Linked DNA regions of Homo sapiens: all the other regions are linked to region 3. Evidence: promoter capture Hi-C in 16 types of primary human blood cells and fetal thymus (Javierre and others, 2016). All regions are on one chromosome and are shown on one strand. Each heading gives the region's core, a stretch centred on a gene start or on the middle of the fragment in contact. The rest is flanking DNA. Distances are from core to core; before and after follow the strand shown. Region 1 overlaps RABGAP1L (RAB GTPase activating protein 1 like). Region 2 has its middle 5.4 kb from the start of SCYL3. Region 3 holds the start of SUCO (SUN domain containing ossification factor). Region 4 overlaps RABGAP1L (RAB GTPase activating protein 1 like). Region 5 overlaps CACYBP (calcyclin binding protein).

Region 1 (2,700 bases), core at 179-2,678, 2.4 Mb before region 3:
AATGAAATTGAACACCTACTAAAATATTTATGAAATGGCAATAACAAAAACAGACACTTCTTAATGCTCTTTTGCTTTTCCTTTGAGTGTCATATAACTCTAAGTTCTCTCTGTGACCGCAAACATTCAATGGAACAAAGATACTTGAGGTAGCCAGTGGGCAAGTCTCAACTCAGGAAGACTCATATCTTCAAACTCCTCCCTCTCCACATTGCTGTTTACAGTTTGCATGAATGACTAAAATGCTGTATGTGGGACTATTAAGGAACTACGGTGTGAGGTGTTGATACTGTGTTGTTAAAGCTGGGTGGAAGGAACTTCCTTATATGACAAGGTCAGAAATCTTGCAAAATAGTTCATCTTCAGACAAAAGAATGAAATTGCTGGGCAGGGCAATGCAAAAGAAAAATGGATCCTGGATCTCATGTGTACCTGGGGGCTGAAGTCTGGGTGAAGCGGTTCAAGGGATTGTGAACGTCATTTATTTCAAGATGAGAAACCAGAGAAATGTGAACTGTTAATTAAAAGTAAAGAAACTAAGCTTTAAAGGAAAAAATGACGAGGAGGGAGGCGGCTTTATAAACCCTAGCTCAATATTTTGGGTGTTGTCTGCTGCTATGATGAATTCTTGGCACATGCTTTTAAAGACTTTTAAGGGTCAGGAGAAAATGTTTTCCTAAAAGACTCAGTGCAAATTTATTAGCAACAACACACTCAACTCTCACATATTTTCTTTTGGATACCTCTTTTAAAAGAGTTGACAGCTATCATATTCAAGTTTTCAAATGCCTACAGATAAAATGTTTAAATATCTATGTTGTCCATAATGAAGATCTGAGAAAGAAAATATGGATATTTGAAGGTTTTGTGCTTCCCTCCTTTACTCATCACATCCAATTTTATCTTTGTAGTGGAAAATTTCAAATTTTTAAATGTCAAACTAAAAACAAAATCTTGTCAGTGATAAATGACAGCTGGCCAAACAGACTGCATTTCTTTCAGCGCTTAAAAAACTATCTTAGGTTATACTCTTGCACAGGGGTCAGCAAACTTCTAGTGTAAATTGCCAGAAAGTAACTATATTAGGCTTTGCAGGTCGCATGGTCTATGTTGAAATTTCTCAACTCTACAAATGTCATACAAAACCAGCCATACACTATAAATAAATAAACAGGTGTGGTTGTGTTCCAATAAAACTTGGTTTACAAAAACTGGCAGTGAGCCAGATTTGGCCTATAAACCACAGTCTGCAGATCCTTGCTCTACTCTAGTACACAAATCAAATTTTCAAAAAGCAGATGCATTCTAGATGATATAGAAACATATTAGTGTCAGGTAATTTTCTCAGTAATACTTAAACAGAAAAGAAAACTTTCTAAAAATTAATGAAAGTTTCTTGAAAACTCTGAAGATCACCAGTAAACATACTAGAAATTCTTAGTGTTCCTAAAGCATATTCTTCCCCCAAGGGTTAAGTATAAGGGACTCTAGCAGACCAGCATTGTTAGAAATCGCCCACTCCTTATTAGCTATATTGCTTGAGAAGCCAAAAGGATTTAGTTTTGCATCTTCACCATCCTATAACAATGAACTCTCTGGATTATCCAAGCTCAAAGAGAAAGTGGAAGACTTCTGAAGTTTATCATTAAGTTATCATAGGCATATATAAACCATCCTTGTGTCTATTACTATTCCTTAAAAGCACATTATTTCATAACATACTATTTCCAAAAGCCAACACAGTTTTTGGGATATGAAAAAATAATAAAATGTAAGTTTATTTGCTATGGCAGAAAAAAAATTTTTTTTTTTTTTGAGACGGAGTCTTGCTCTGTCACCCAGGCAGGAGTCCAGTGGCACGATCTCTGCCCACTGCAACCTCTGCCTCCCAGGTTCAAGAGGTTCTCCTGCCTCAGCCTACTGAGTAGCTGGGACTACAGGTTATGTGCCACCACACCCAGCTAATTTTTGTATTTTTAGTAGAGACAGGGTTTTACCATGTTGGCCAGGTTGGTCTTGAACTCCTGACCTCAAGTGATCCACCTGCCTTGGCCTCCCAAAGTGCTGGGATTACAGGTGTGAGCCACCACACCCAGCCAGAAAAACATTTTTCAAAGATGGATTCACTTATCTTGACTCCCCTGAGTAAGAAAGGGTCCAACAGTTTTTTTAAAAAGTCTACTCCCTCTTTTTTATAGGTAAGAAATGTATACTAATTTAAACTTTTATTTGTCAAGTTTAAAAGAAATGTGAAAATTACTCTAAACTATTGCATTAGATATTTAAGGATGGCAAAAAAGTACAATTAAGCTTTATTTCAAATATTTCATTTGTATTATTTTTACTATGCATAATAGCTTAATTTGAAATTACATGTAGGAGCAATTGCTCTACAAAAACCAGTATGTGCAAGAAAAAACTCTGTGGAAACATAGAGGAATCATTTTCTTTGTTTAAATTACATTTTGATTTTAAAAATTACTTTGTTTAATCTCAAGAATGAGGTTAAACATTCTAAATTTAATTGTACTGAACATGGATAAGACACTTCAATTAGAAATTATGTATTTATAATAATGTCTGTGTCCCAAACCCAAGAGAGTTTAAGCATTCCAGATTCTTTTAGTATTTTCCCATCTAGAACAGGTAACCTTTATTATGCTTTGGGAGATTCACTGAATTTAATTAACTAGCTGTGTG
Region 2 (2,700 bases), core at 24-2,523, 2.6 Mb after region 3:
AAAAGGTAATAAAGAAGTAGTAAAATAACCTAGTCAATAGGAATTTAATCCAGAATTGCATGGGAAGAAAGCCACAGTAACCTCTTTTGCCTATTTTAAAGTTTCAGATAATTGTTTTCTCTCAAAACCAAAAGCCATAATACATAAGCAAATTGTCATATTTCATCAAATATATGATGCCATCACATTTAGGAAGCATCAATATATTTGGTACCACTAAGAAAAAATTATTGACAAATTATATTATGCCATTTGTGGTAAAATGCATTCTGACCTTCAGGGATGTTAAAATGTGAAAAACTATAGTTTTTACAATCTAGAAAATACAGTATATGGCTGTTTATAAGACGGTCAGTGCTATGGAGGGAAAAAGCAAAAGAAAACAGGATAGGAAGCACCAGGAGTGTAGCAGGAAGGAAGGTAAACGTTGTAGAATTAGATAGGGTGGATCAGGACAGACTTCATTGAGAAGACGAGATCTGAACAAAAAATAGAAGTAACAGACTTAGTCAAATGGACATGTGGGAAAAGAGAATGACAGGAAAAGGAAGCGCTAGAGCAAAAGTCCTAAGGCAAGAGCTCACCTGGCATGCTGACAGGACAGCAAGGAGGCCACTGAGCATGGACCAGAGTTAGTGAGCAGGAGGATAGCAGTGAGGCCAAAGGAGGGAGGCCTTAGATCATTTAGGGCAGTTCTCAAACCTTCCTGCAAGGAAGGTGCCTGCAAATCACCTAAAGATCCTGTTAAAATGTAGATTCTGACTCGACAATCTAGCGTGAGGCCTCAGCTTTTGCATTTTTAACATGCTTCCAGAGGATGCTCATGTTGCCTTCAAATATTAATTAACCACCCCTACAGGATAGATCTAAGTTAGTACACATCTGTATCTCCCTGAAGGCTGAAGTATTTCAAAGAAGAGGTAGATATATAATGCACACATTGTTTGCCCCAAATCTTTCTCCCAGGAGTATGATTCCAAGATGATTCATGGCTCTTTGAAGTTGAGAAGCAATTCACACTTCAGAGGCTTTTAGCATCTGAAAGATTTCAATGAGAAGTCTATACTCCTGGGGCAGATACTACAAACACTTCAGCTATCTCTAACTCAGATCAATACTAGTGGCTTTAAGGATGTTTAAAAGTGAATTTTCATGGCCAAAATAAGTAATTTCAAGATGGACAGAATGAATAGAAATGTTGCCATGCCTTACATGATCAGAGTATGAGAATCTAGTGAGTCTAGCAATCTACACACTTTGGAAAGGTGCCCTAGATTTAGGATTTCAGACCAGCCCCATATGGAGAAGATTACAAGAAGATTTTGTCACCCAGCTCTAATGAGGATAGCTGAGTCTGCTATTAGAATACTGTCCCATCTTCCTGCAGTGGATGGACCTTTCATGCAAGATGCTATTCAAGCTCCTACACAAGGAAGTGGAACCTCACTGAGTTTGTATAACAGCTCTACTGCCTGTCTTTAAACCTTGCTAATAAACGTGTGAATGTGTAGAATCCCACCTCAGACTTGCTTTCATTCTCTCTTTGTAGTGGTAGCAAGGTTATGGTGGAACTTAGAAAACACATACTTCTCATTAGAGAAATCTTCCAATATCTATGCAAAGTTCCTAAAAACAACGAGAGAACAAAGTGGCTTAGGTCCAGTTCAGTTTTCTATAAGGTATCCACTACTTATGGATGCTATATGTATTTATCTGAAATGTGCCTGAAGGAGGGTTTGTCATTCATGCAAGTTTCCCCCTTTACACTTCCAGATTCTAATTGCAATTATGCAATTACACAAATTATTGAGGTAGAACATTAAATAGAAATCACTTGAATAACTTTTACTCTCTTTGGTTTTCAGGTAGAGCTTGTAAAAAAGTTAGTTCAAATCAAGTTGGAAAAAAATAATTAAGTTGGATGGCTAAGGCTTTTATAGAACCAGGAATATATCCAAGATACTTATAGTCTACTTGGGAATCTAAGTTAGAAACATGAAAAAGATTAATTAAAAAAACACCTAAAAGTCAAGCTGAATACCATTGACATGTTTTGATTTGAATTAAGAAGAGGATTGGTTGGAAGTAAAATTCAGGTTGATCCTTAAACAGTATGACAAGAAAAAATTATTTCTATTAAGAAAACAAACTATTTGTTTCTAACTGTCCCACCAGCCACATTCCAAGGACAGCGGATTCAGGTTGTTGGAGATTCTTTTCTTTCCTGGCCTTAGACATATTTAAAATGAGGACTGAGGAATCAGTGAGGGAATACAAGATTTCTATGCATAAGAAAGGCAGAAGGAGCTCAGAGAGCAGCTCCAGGGAACTGAGAACTGGAACCAGAGCTATAGAGGGCTCTGTGGGGTAAGGGCTGGGAGGCAGAGAGATGTAGGGAGGGTGCCTGGGACATGCAGTGTGCTCTCAGTAAATTCATTTGTGTGTTTAATATTTACTGAGTACCTAGTATGTTCTAGGCACTGTGTTATGTGCTAGAAATATGGCAGGAAAGAAAGAAATGAAGGAAGGAAGCCCTGTTTTCAGGGAGCTGATGTTCTAGCTGTGGGACAGAGATGCTGAACAAATATGTGCATTGGTGTTAAGCAAAATAAGGCAAAGTCAAAAGACAGGAAGAGGCAGGTAAGGTGCTGTTTTAGACAGTGTTTTCAGGGGAGCTGTCTCTGATAAATTGCATTCAAG
Region 3 (2,700 bases), core at 141-2,640:
CTTGTTTATGTATTATTTTATGTGAGCAACAACTCTACAATTTCAGTGCTTCTGGAATCCATAAGGCATCCATAAAAATGAAAATAGTGTTGGTGCTTTGCAGAAATAAGCAAAACAGGAAACTTAATTTCTATTTTAATATAACAAACAGCAAATCGCCTAGACTGAAGAAGCATCTTTTCAGTCATCAATTGTCACACATCTTTGAAGAAATTCCCTGGGAGGAAAGAATGGCTTTTCCAAGTACGGTGACAGCAGTCCCTCGACTTACAAGCTTTCTCTGCTCCTCAAAAAACTCCAGAAGTGCCTGGGATTAACAGAAACTCCGTAAAACTTAAGGAGTGCTTTAGGGACAAAGCACTCTTCCCGCCTTGAAAATACAGCATTTACCTTCCCGTCACTAAGGGGCATTACCAAAAACTACTACACACACTACATCTAAGACACCCTCTCCACCAAACCAATTGAAAAAGTGCTTCATAACACACATACACACACGCCCCCCAAGTTTCCAAAAACAGCGGCCCGAGTGTACTTGGGATCAAACGCTGTGCGAGAAATGTCCAGGAGAACTACTGCTTATACATTACTCTTACCTTCATGACCACTCACGTTTTAAAATCGCACGTCCGGAACGCATCACATCCGACGTGCTTTATCCCCTTACCACACTAAGAACGCAAAGACTGGCGGCAAATCGGAGCAACTTACTTACCATCAATCTGAACACCCACCCCAAACCCTGCACCGTCTCCAAGGGGTAGAGGAACTGAGTACAAAGGCACTTGGTGGTTCCCTCTACCTTGGCACCTCTCTCTCTCCCACTGAGTCTCTGTAAATTCCAAAATACACCATGAAAATCTCCGCACAGAGCACTACCAGACCAGTCAGATGGAGAGTCGAGAAGTAATCGGTTTGTCCCTTCCACGGGGGCCTTGGAAACCCGGACCCTAAAAGCCAAAATGACCAGGGGGTGTGACCTGGGCTGCTCCCTCCCATTTACTCCCCTCACGGGAACTCCCTTGTCGTCGCGGCTACTCACCAGACCAGAGAGCACAGAAAGAGGCAGGAGACCAGGGCCAAGGCCCGCCGGTGCTTCTTCATCTTCTCCTCCTTCTTCCCCCTGCCAGAAGGCGGCACATCCTCCCGGCAGCCGCCACTGCCGAGGCCAAGATGGAGGAGCCGGAGCAGGAGCGCGAGAATGTGACCGATAGTCCTAAGGGCTATGGCGCTGGCTGAGCGGCTCCTCAGTGGCTCGCGTCCTGGCAGCCCTCTCTGAGGGCCCCACAGAGGCGCGGACAGGGGCGCTTCACAGGACTCCGGGGACCGCCGCCGCTGCAGCCACCGGCTCGTCCACGCCCGCCTCCTGCAGCCGCCACTGCCGCCCCATATCCTCCCCGCCCGCCGGGGGCCTTGCTCCGTGAGGCCAGCGACCAACGGCCGCCGCGTACTCGCCTCTCAACAGCCAATCGCCGGCGGGGCCGCGACACCTCACACACCGCTGAGCTGGAAAGGGACGCGTCACCCAAGTCCCGCGGCGCCCGCACCCCCACCAGCCTCTGCGCAGGCCACGCCCCCTTCGACGTCGCAGGCGGAGAAGCCGGAGGCAGGAGACCACAAAGCGCAGGAGCAGATGCTCTCGCCGCTCCGCCCGCCCCAGGTCCCGCCCACTTGCTGGCTTGCGTTCAGAAAGCCGGGAGGAGCCCAGTGATCCTCAGCATTTCCCCTTACAGTGGACCGCCCTTCGTCCCTCGCGCGCTGAGTCCGCGCAAGGGCCTTTGGGAGTTGTAGTTTGCCTTCCAGAATTCGTTTTTCTCTTTCCCAGTCCCTCCTAGAATCCATGGTTTTGTTAGAGAAGTCTATAGTTTCGCTGCTCACCACGAGACTGATCAGCTTTGGAACTGTTGCACTGTTTTCCTCTTTTGAGCACAGTTCGTGGAATGGCCTAGAATGACGTGTGTGTTGTGAGGGAAGCTGCACCAAGCCCTTTCCCTGTGGCAATGGACTGCCCCATTGAGCTAGATGTTGATTGGTAGATAGAAAGGGGCGTGCCAAGAATCCTCTCATCTGATTGGTTGCAGCGGAAAACCTTTCGCTTTTTCTTCTCTTCAGCAAGAATTTCGCCGCTTGCCGGGTTCCTCACTTTAAGTGTGCTTCGTTGCTTTTCGTTCTGTTGGTTTCGAACTTTGGGTTCTCTGCGATGGAGTCGGAAGGGAGGAGTTGTCCCCATTAGAGGAGCACCCACAGACGCTCCAAGTCCTGGGGTTCACCTAAAGTGGGGAAGGCAGTCGCTTACACTCACCTAAGAAGAGCAAAAAGTGACCACTTCTCAATACTAAGTAACGGGGCAGCATGCCCATTCCAAGTGTTTACGCCGCTGAGGGGACGGAGGCTGCAATGGTCTGTGCCTTGGAACATGGCATAATGTTTAGTGTGAAAAATGTTTAAAGGACGGGTTACTTATTGTTCATGTGGCCGTAGGGAAAAAACCCTCAGTAAAATGCCCACCTAACGCCTAATTTTGAGCCGCGGAATTTCCTTATGAACCTTCTAAGTTGAATTGGATGTTAATTATAGTCCCAAAGAACTGAATGATTTGATCCGCTCTGTGATTCTTGGATATAAGTCAATTTGATGTTAGAGAAATTATACAAAGGGTGATAATTTTTGTTTTAAAGGAGTTCACCCTGAACTGCCTTT
Region 4 (2,700 bases), core at 134-2,633, 2.5 Mb before region 3:
GGTGACCTTGAGGATAGAAGTCCACATGACGATGTAGGTCACTAATGACTGATTAGCTTGGGTTACTAATGACACCAAAGATATACCTTTCTAGTCCTAGGCTGCTTTTATGTAAAATAATCAACACCTTTTATGTTTAAGCCAATGCTATTTTGGGTTCCCTATATGTGGCCAATCTAATTCTGCATTGATACACAGAGTGATAGTCAAATATCACTTTATATTTGGGAACACTCATTCTGATTATAGTGTAAAGGATGAACTGGGGGGTGATCATGACAAAAGAAGGTTATTACAGGAAACTGAAAAAACCAAAAGCTATTTATCATACCAAATGAGATAGGAGGAAGCACTAGAGAAAGGGGAGGTAGTATAGTCTAACAGCTAATGTTATTGACTTTAGAGTCTGACTTCCAGGCTTAAATCCTGGTTCTACTAGCTGTGTAACCTTGATCAAATGAATTACCTGTTTGCGACCTTATCATCAATAAAAAAGAAGCTTTACTGTCTTTTTCTTTTTTAATTTTGTACCAGGCTCTTACTGTCACCCAGGCTGGAGTGCCATGGCATGCTCACAGTTCACTGCAGCTTCAGCCTCCTGGGCTCAAGCGATCCTCCCACTTCAGCCTCCTGAGGAGCTGGGACTACAGGTGCATGCCACCACATCCGGCTAATTTTTGTATTTTTTGTAGAGACAGGGTTTCACCAAGTTTCCCAGTCCAGGAGTTTCACCAAGTTGAACTCCTGGACTCAAGTGATCCGCCCACCTCAGCCTCCCCAAAGTGTTGGAATGACAGGCGTGAGCCTAGTTGTTCTTCTTTATTCTGGCTAAGACAAGTTTACATTCCTCTTCCTGAATGTCATGGCCTTTCATTAGGTAGTCTCACCTACTTAGCCAATATTTTCCTCTGTTCCTTAATACATATTCTAATCACATCAGTCTCTGTAATGAGACACTGAAATACTCATTCCTGTGTTTGCGTCTTCACTCACATCATTTCTTCTATAATGTTCTGTTTAAACACTTCTCTCTAACTAATTTCTATCCACCCTGCTTTAGTCCAATCTCCATAAAGCCTTTTTTGGTCTATAGTTCTCATGATTTTGTTTTCTCTACAATGCTGATTGTCATTGTGATCCAACTTAGCACTTTTTTTGTTTGTTTTTTGTTTTTTTGAGATGGAATCTCACTCTGCTGCTCAGGCTGGAGTACAGTGGCACAATGTCGGCTCACTGCAACCTCTGCCTCCTGGGTTCAAGTGATTCTTGTGCCTCAGCCTCCAGAGTAGCTGAGATTACAGGTGTGAGCCACTATGCCTGGCTAATTTTTGTTATTTTTAGCAGAGACAGGGTTTCACCATGATGGCCAGGCTGGTCTTGAACGCCTGACCTCAGGTGATCTGCCCACCTCAGCCTCCCAAAGTGTTGGGATTACAGGCGTGAGCCACCACACCTGGCCCAACTTAGCTCCCTTGAACTGCTTCCGAAGTTCTTAATTTGCATGTATACATAACTTGTCCTACAGGAAAATTTTAAGCTCCTTTTCATGTGTAATTTCTATAACAAAATGGCAGTCTAATAGCTATGCACATAGTATATGCTCAATAAAACCTTTGCTGAATAATCAATATAAATTCTCATTTTGTTATTTCCATAAAGATTTCAGTTTAGCACTGAGAACACATGGACACAGAAGAGGGGAACAACACTCACCAGGGCCTGTTGTTGGGGGTGGGGACTGAGGGGAGGGAACTTAGAGGATGGGTTAACAGGCACAGCAAACCACCATGGCACACGTATACCTATGTAACAAACCTGCACCTTCTGCACATGTATCCCTTTTTTTTTTTTTTTTTTTTTGTTAGAAGAAATACAAAAAAAATTCACTTCAGGAGAGTTAACCCCTTTATGCCATTCAACTTCATCAACTGAATCTTGGTCAGTATGCCTATAATGTACAAAGAGTGGTAAGTGCTAACTAGAAAGAAGTGCAAAAGTAGACCAGAAAGGGAAGATACAAACATCAAATTTTAGCACATCAGAGAGGGAGAACACCAAACCTTATACTCACTAAATCTCTCATTGACATTTTGTAACATGAGTAAGAAGAAAATACTTTTGGAATACAAGGTCTTGTATGTCAGGTACTAATATAAGCACTTTATATACACTATGTACTTTATATTCATTATCTTATTTAACATTCAGAATGATTTTTTGAGGCAGGTAATGTTATCTCCATTTTATAGAACACAAAATGAAGCTTAAAAAGGTTAAATCACTTTTCAAGATTGCTAAATTACTTACTACACATTTATTTACTAGTATGAAACCTGAACATATTCAAATAAGATGATGTCAGGTTTCTGTAACACTGGTCCCAAAAGTTGACTATGACAATATTGCCTCTTAAGAATACCAATCCATTGGTTTACTGTTGTTTCTATGGAATAAGCAATCTGTTTTTTTCAAATAGAGCATCAACATAATGCATTTTACCACCAGGGGGCAGCAAGTAAACAAATGCCACAGGTTTTCTTTAAAAATAAACCTCTAAAAACTTAGTGCAAGAATCAGTTACCCAACACATGTTTTTCCAGCTAAGTTCTATATTGCCCATGGTGTTTACTTATAAAGAGAGTGATGGGATGATCCTACTGAGTCCCATACTGAAGCCACATCAATGCAGGCTCAGTCAGA
Region 5 (2,700 bases), core at 98-2,597, 2.5 Mb before region 3:
TTCACCGTATAGCCCGTTGTAATGGGAGCAACCACAGCAGCTGGTTTTTCATTATCAAGAAGTTCTGCTTTCTTCTGTGATTTCTGTTGCATCTTGTTCTTGATTTCTGTCTCAATCTTGGATTTTTCAGCTGTAAGGGCATCACGTACTCTTTTCCTAGTAGCCTTTTCCAGCAACACCTTTACCTCTTCTAGATCTTTCTGTAGCTGTGTTAAGACAAAAAATAAGTTAGCTATGATAAATAAGGAAATGGCTTGATATTGTGCGTATCACTCATTTCAACTTACTGAAATAAGCACTAAGAATTAAGAAGTTCATCTAAATTTTCTAGGATTGAGTTGCAACTTCAATTCTTCCATCTGGCTTATTAACTGTAATTAACTCAAGCTTCCTTTTTTTCAAAAGGAAAACTTTGAACAATCTTGAACAAACAATAAATAGGTCTTCAAACCTAAATTTTCCAGTTTATGTTTTAAAATATTTACAAGAAACGTCTGCGACCTAAAAAGTAAAACAAAGAACTTTTTTTTGACAAAGGATTCATAGATTTCCTTGTAACATCTAATCCGAGTGTCATTAGATGTTAGACACTTTTAAAATATTTAAGAGATGAGAGAACATGCAGTGACCATGGTAAAATGCTTTTATAGCAAACTTAACTGAGGTAATGAATGCTCCACTTTCTGTCACTGATTGGTCTTCATTATCTTCCCACCTCAAATACCTCACATAAAAAAAGTCTTAATTTTTAAGACAAAAGATAAAAAAAAAAATTTCTGCTTTTGAGGAAAAGTCTTGCTCTGAAGCTGGGTCAGTCTTACACTCAGAAGTGTAGGAGTTGGTTGCACAGAAGGTGACAAAAGACCGAAAATGCAACATACTCTTGGAAATTATCTTTTGAAAAAGCCACCACGTTCTCATTTTCTTCTCTTGCCAATCCATCATCTATTAAAGTCTACTACTTTCTACTTTCTAGAGATAGAGGCAACATTTTATGAAATTCAAGAGTTAAAGACAATGTTAGAAAATTATTGAGCCTAAGTTTTTTTTCCCCCAATTACCCTCTGACATACTGCAAATACACAAGATCTTTCCAAACAGCTGTTTCACTTTTCTTACAATAACTTTACACTCTGGCTTGACACTACCAACTTGACCAAAAAAATCTTGTGTCACAGCTTGATATCAAAAGCTCAATTTAAAAAAGTCTTTTAGTGCTTTATAACTCAGAATATCAGACGCACAACAGAGTTTGAAAGCCTGTTTCTTAATAGTCTTATAAAATGCAATAACAGAACTAATTCTTTTCTTTTACTACAAGTCTTTTGTTATCTCATTTAACTCAGATGCCCTAGTTTTGCCTATCTATAACAGATGACATGGTATAAAAAGTTCAACTCTGGCCAGGTGCAGTGGCTCACACCTGTAATCCCAGTACTTTGGGAGGCCAAAGCGGGTGGATCACTTGAGGTTAGGGGTTCGAGACCAACATGACCAACACGGCGAAAGCCCGTCTCTACTTAAAATTCAAAAATTTGCCGGGTGTGGTGGCACGTGCCTGTAATCCCAGCTACTCGGGAAGCTGAGGCAGAAGAATCGCTTGAACCCGGGAGGCAAAGGTTGCAGTGACCCGAGATCGCGCCATTGCACTCCAGCCCGGGCAACAAGAGCAAAACTCGGTCTCCCAAAAAAAAAAAAAAATCAACTCTGCCCAACCCTCTTGTCCACACTCTCGACCCTTCCAAGAACAGCTCATATTACTATGACAAAAAATCTTGCAAACTCATCTTTTGAGCATAGAACCAAAATGTTTCAGTTCAAAGTAATATTTTTATTGTAATGGTTTCAAAAAAACGCTGATTCTACAACTCCTAATTCATAATAAAAATATTGAAATGTAAAATGAAATATATTAAGTCTAAGCAAGAGGTTTTGCTTTTTGACTGAAATAGGAATACTTTATCTAGCAGAATGAGAAAGGTACTTCGAATTAGGCAAGGGATTCCCCCAATGGCTGAATTCCCAAGCCCTCTTTATTGCCAGTTTTGACTCTAAAGTACTCTTTTTATTATGAAGTATCCACTGAAAAAACTTAAAACTGAGACAGTTCCTCAGTTCTGTTATTGGCAGACTTGAAACCAACAAAGGTGATTCCTTTGATGCTTTTTCTGCACAAATACTTTAAGATGTCCTAGTTTCCTATCTAATTTATCATGTAATTTTCCTTGCCTTCTTGGCATGTGTTTGTTTTACGTATATAAAAATTTTATTTCTCTTTTATCCCTACCCATAAGGCATTCAAGCTTTATCTTCCTATTTCCTAATTTTTCACTAGGAGGCATTAACACCAATGTGCCTCAAAAATGGGCAAAGGAATTCAACACACATTTCTCCAAAGACACAGAAATGGACACCAAGAACATTAAAGATGCTCAACATCTTCATCATTGGGTAAACGCATATCAAATTCCCAAGATGCCACTTCACACCCAGTAGGATGGTATCATAAACCGAAAAAGAAAAATAAAACACCCCAGAAAATAACAAATGTTGATAATGATGTGGAGAAACTTTCAGAAGCTTCAAACATTTCTTACAGGAATATGATGCAACCACTCTGGAAACAGTCTAACAGTTTCTCAGAAAGTTACCATATGAACCAGTAATTCCACTCCTAGGTATATACCCCAGAGAACTGAA

The links. The method cuts DNA at HindIII sites, captures the fragments that hold promoters and counts their contacts. A CHiCAGO score of 5 or more calls a contact.
Region 1: a contact is called between a fragment that was not itself captured here and the fragment with the promoter of SUCO in region 3, in 1 of 17 cell types (monocytes). The highest score is 7.3, in monocytes.
Region 2: a fragment that was not itself captured here is called in contact with the fragment with the promoter of SUCO in region 3 in 1 of 17 cell types (neutrophils); the score reaches 6.1 in neutrophils.
Region 4: a fragment that was not itself captured here is called in contact with the fragment with the promoter of SUCO in region 3 in 1 of 17 cell types (neutrophils); the score reaches 8.2 in neutrophils.
Region 5: a fragment that was not itself captured here is called in contact with the fragment with the promoter of SUCO in region 3 in 8 of 17 cell types (total B cells, naive CD8 T cells, total CD8 T cells and 5 more); the score reaches 11.8 in total B cells.

What each region holds. Positions count from the first base shown.
Region 1 is chr1:174,962,214-174,964,913 of GRCh38, reverse strand. The region is part of intron 20 of RABGAP1L (RAB GTPase activating protein 1 like); the gene reads right to left. Among named protein-coding and RNA genes, the nearest start is that of RABGAP1L-AS1, 9.3 kb to the right of the region's middle. The HindIII fragment of the contact is 1,769 bases long and covers 544-2,312 here.
Region 2 is chr1:169,897,977-169,900,676 of GRCh38, reverse strand. No RefSeq gene overlaps it. Among named protein-coding and RNA genes, the nearest start is that of SCYL3, 5.4 kb to the right of the region's middle. The HindIII fragment of the contact is 5,358 bases long and covers 1-2,700 here.
Region 3 is chr1:172,531,840-172,534,539 of GRCh38, reverse strand. SUCO (SUN domain containing ossification factor) reads right to left here and starts at 1,390. Exons shown (of 24, transcript NM_014283.5): 1 at 1,043-1,390. The coding sequence starts at 1,104. RefSeq lists enhancers at 1,002-1,161, 1,772-2,021, 2,082-2,191 and a silencer at 1,282-1,451. The HindIII fragment of the contact is 4,223 bases long and covers 277-2,700 here.
Region 4 is chr1:174,983,218-174,985,917 of GRCh38, reverse strand. All of the region lies in intron 24 of RABGAP1L (RAB GTPase activating protein 1 like), which reads right to left. Among named protein-coding and RNA genes, the nearest start is that of CACYBP, 15 kb to the left of the region's middle. The HindIII fragment of the contact is 1,764 bases long and covers 502-2,265 here.
Region 5 is chr1:175,002,120-175,004,819 of GRCh38, reverse strand. CACYBP (calcyclin binding protein) reads right to left here. Exons shown (of 6, transcript NM_014412.3): 2 at 1-206. Among named protein-coding and RNA genes, the nearest start is that of CACYBP, 3.5 kb to the right of the region's middle. The HindIII fragment of the contact is 1,916 bases long and covers 390-2,305 here.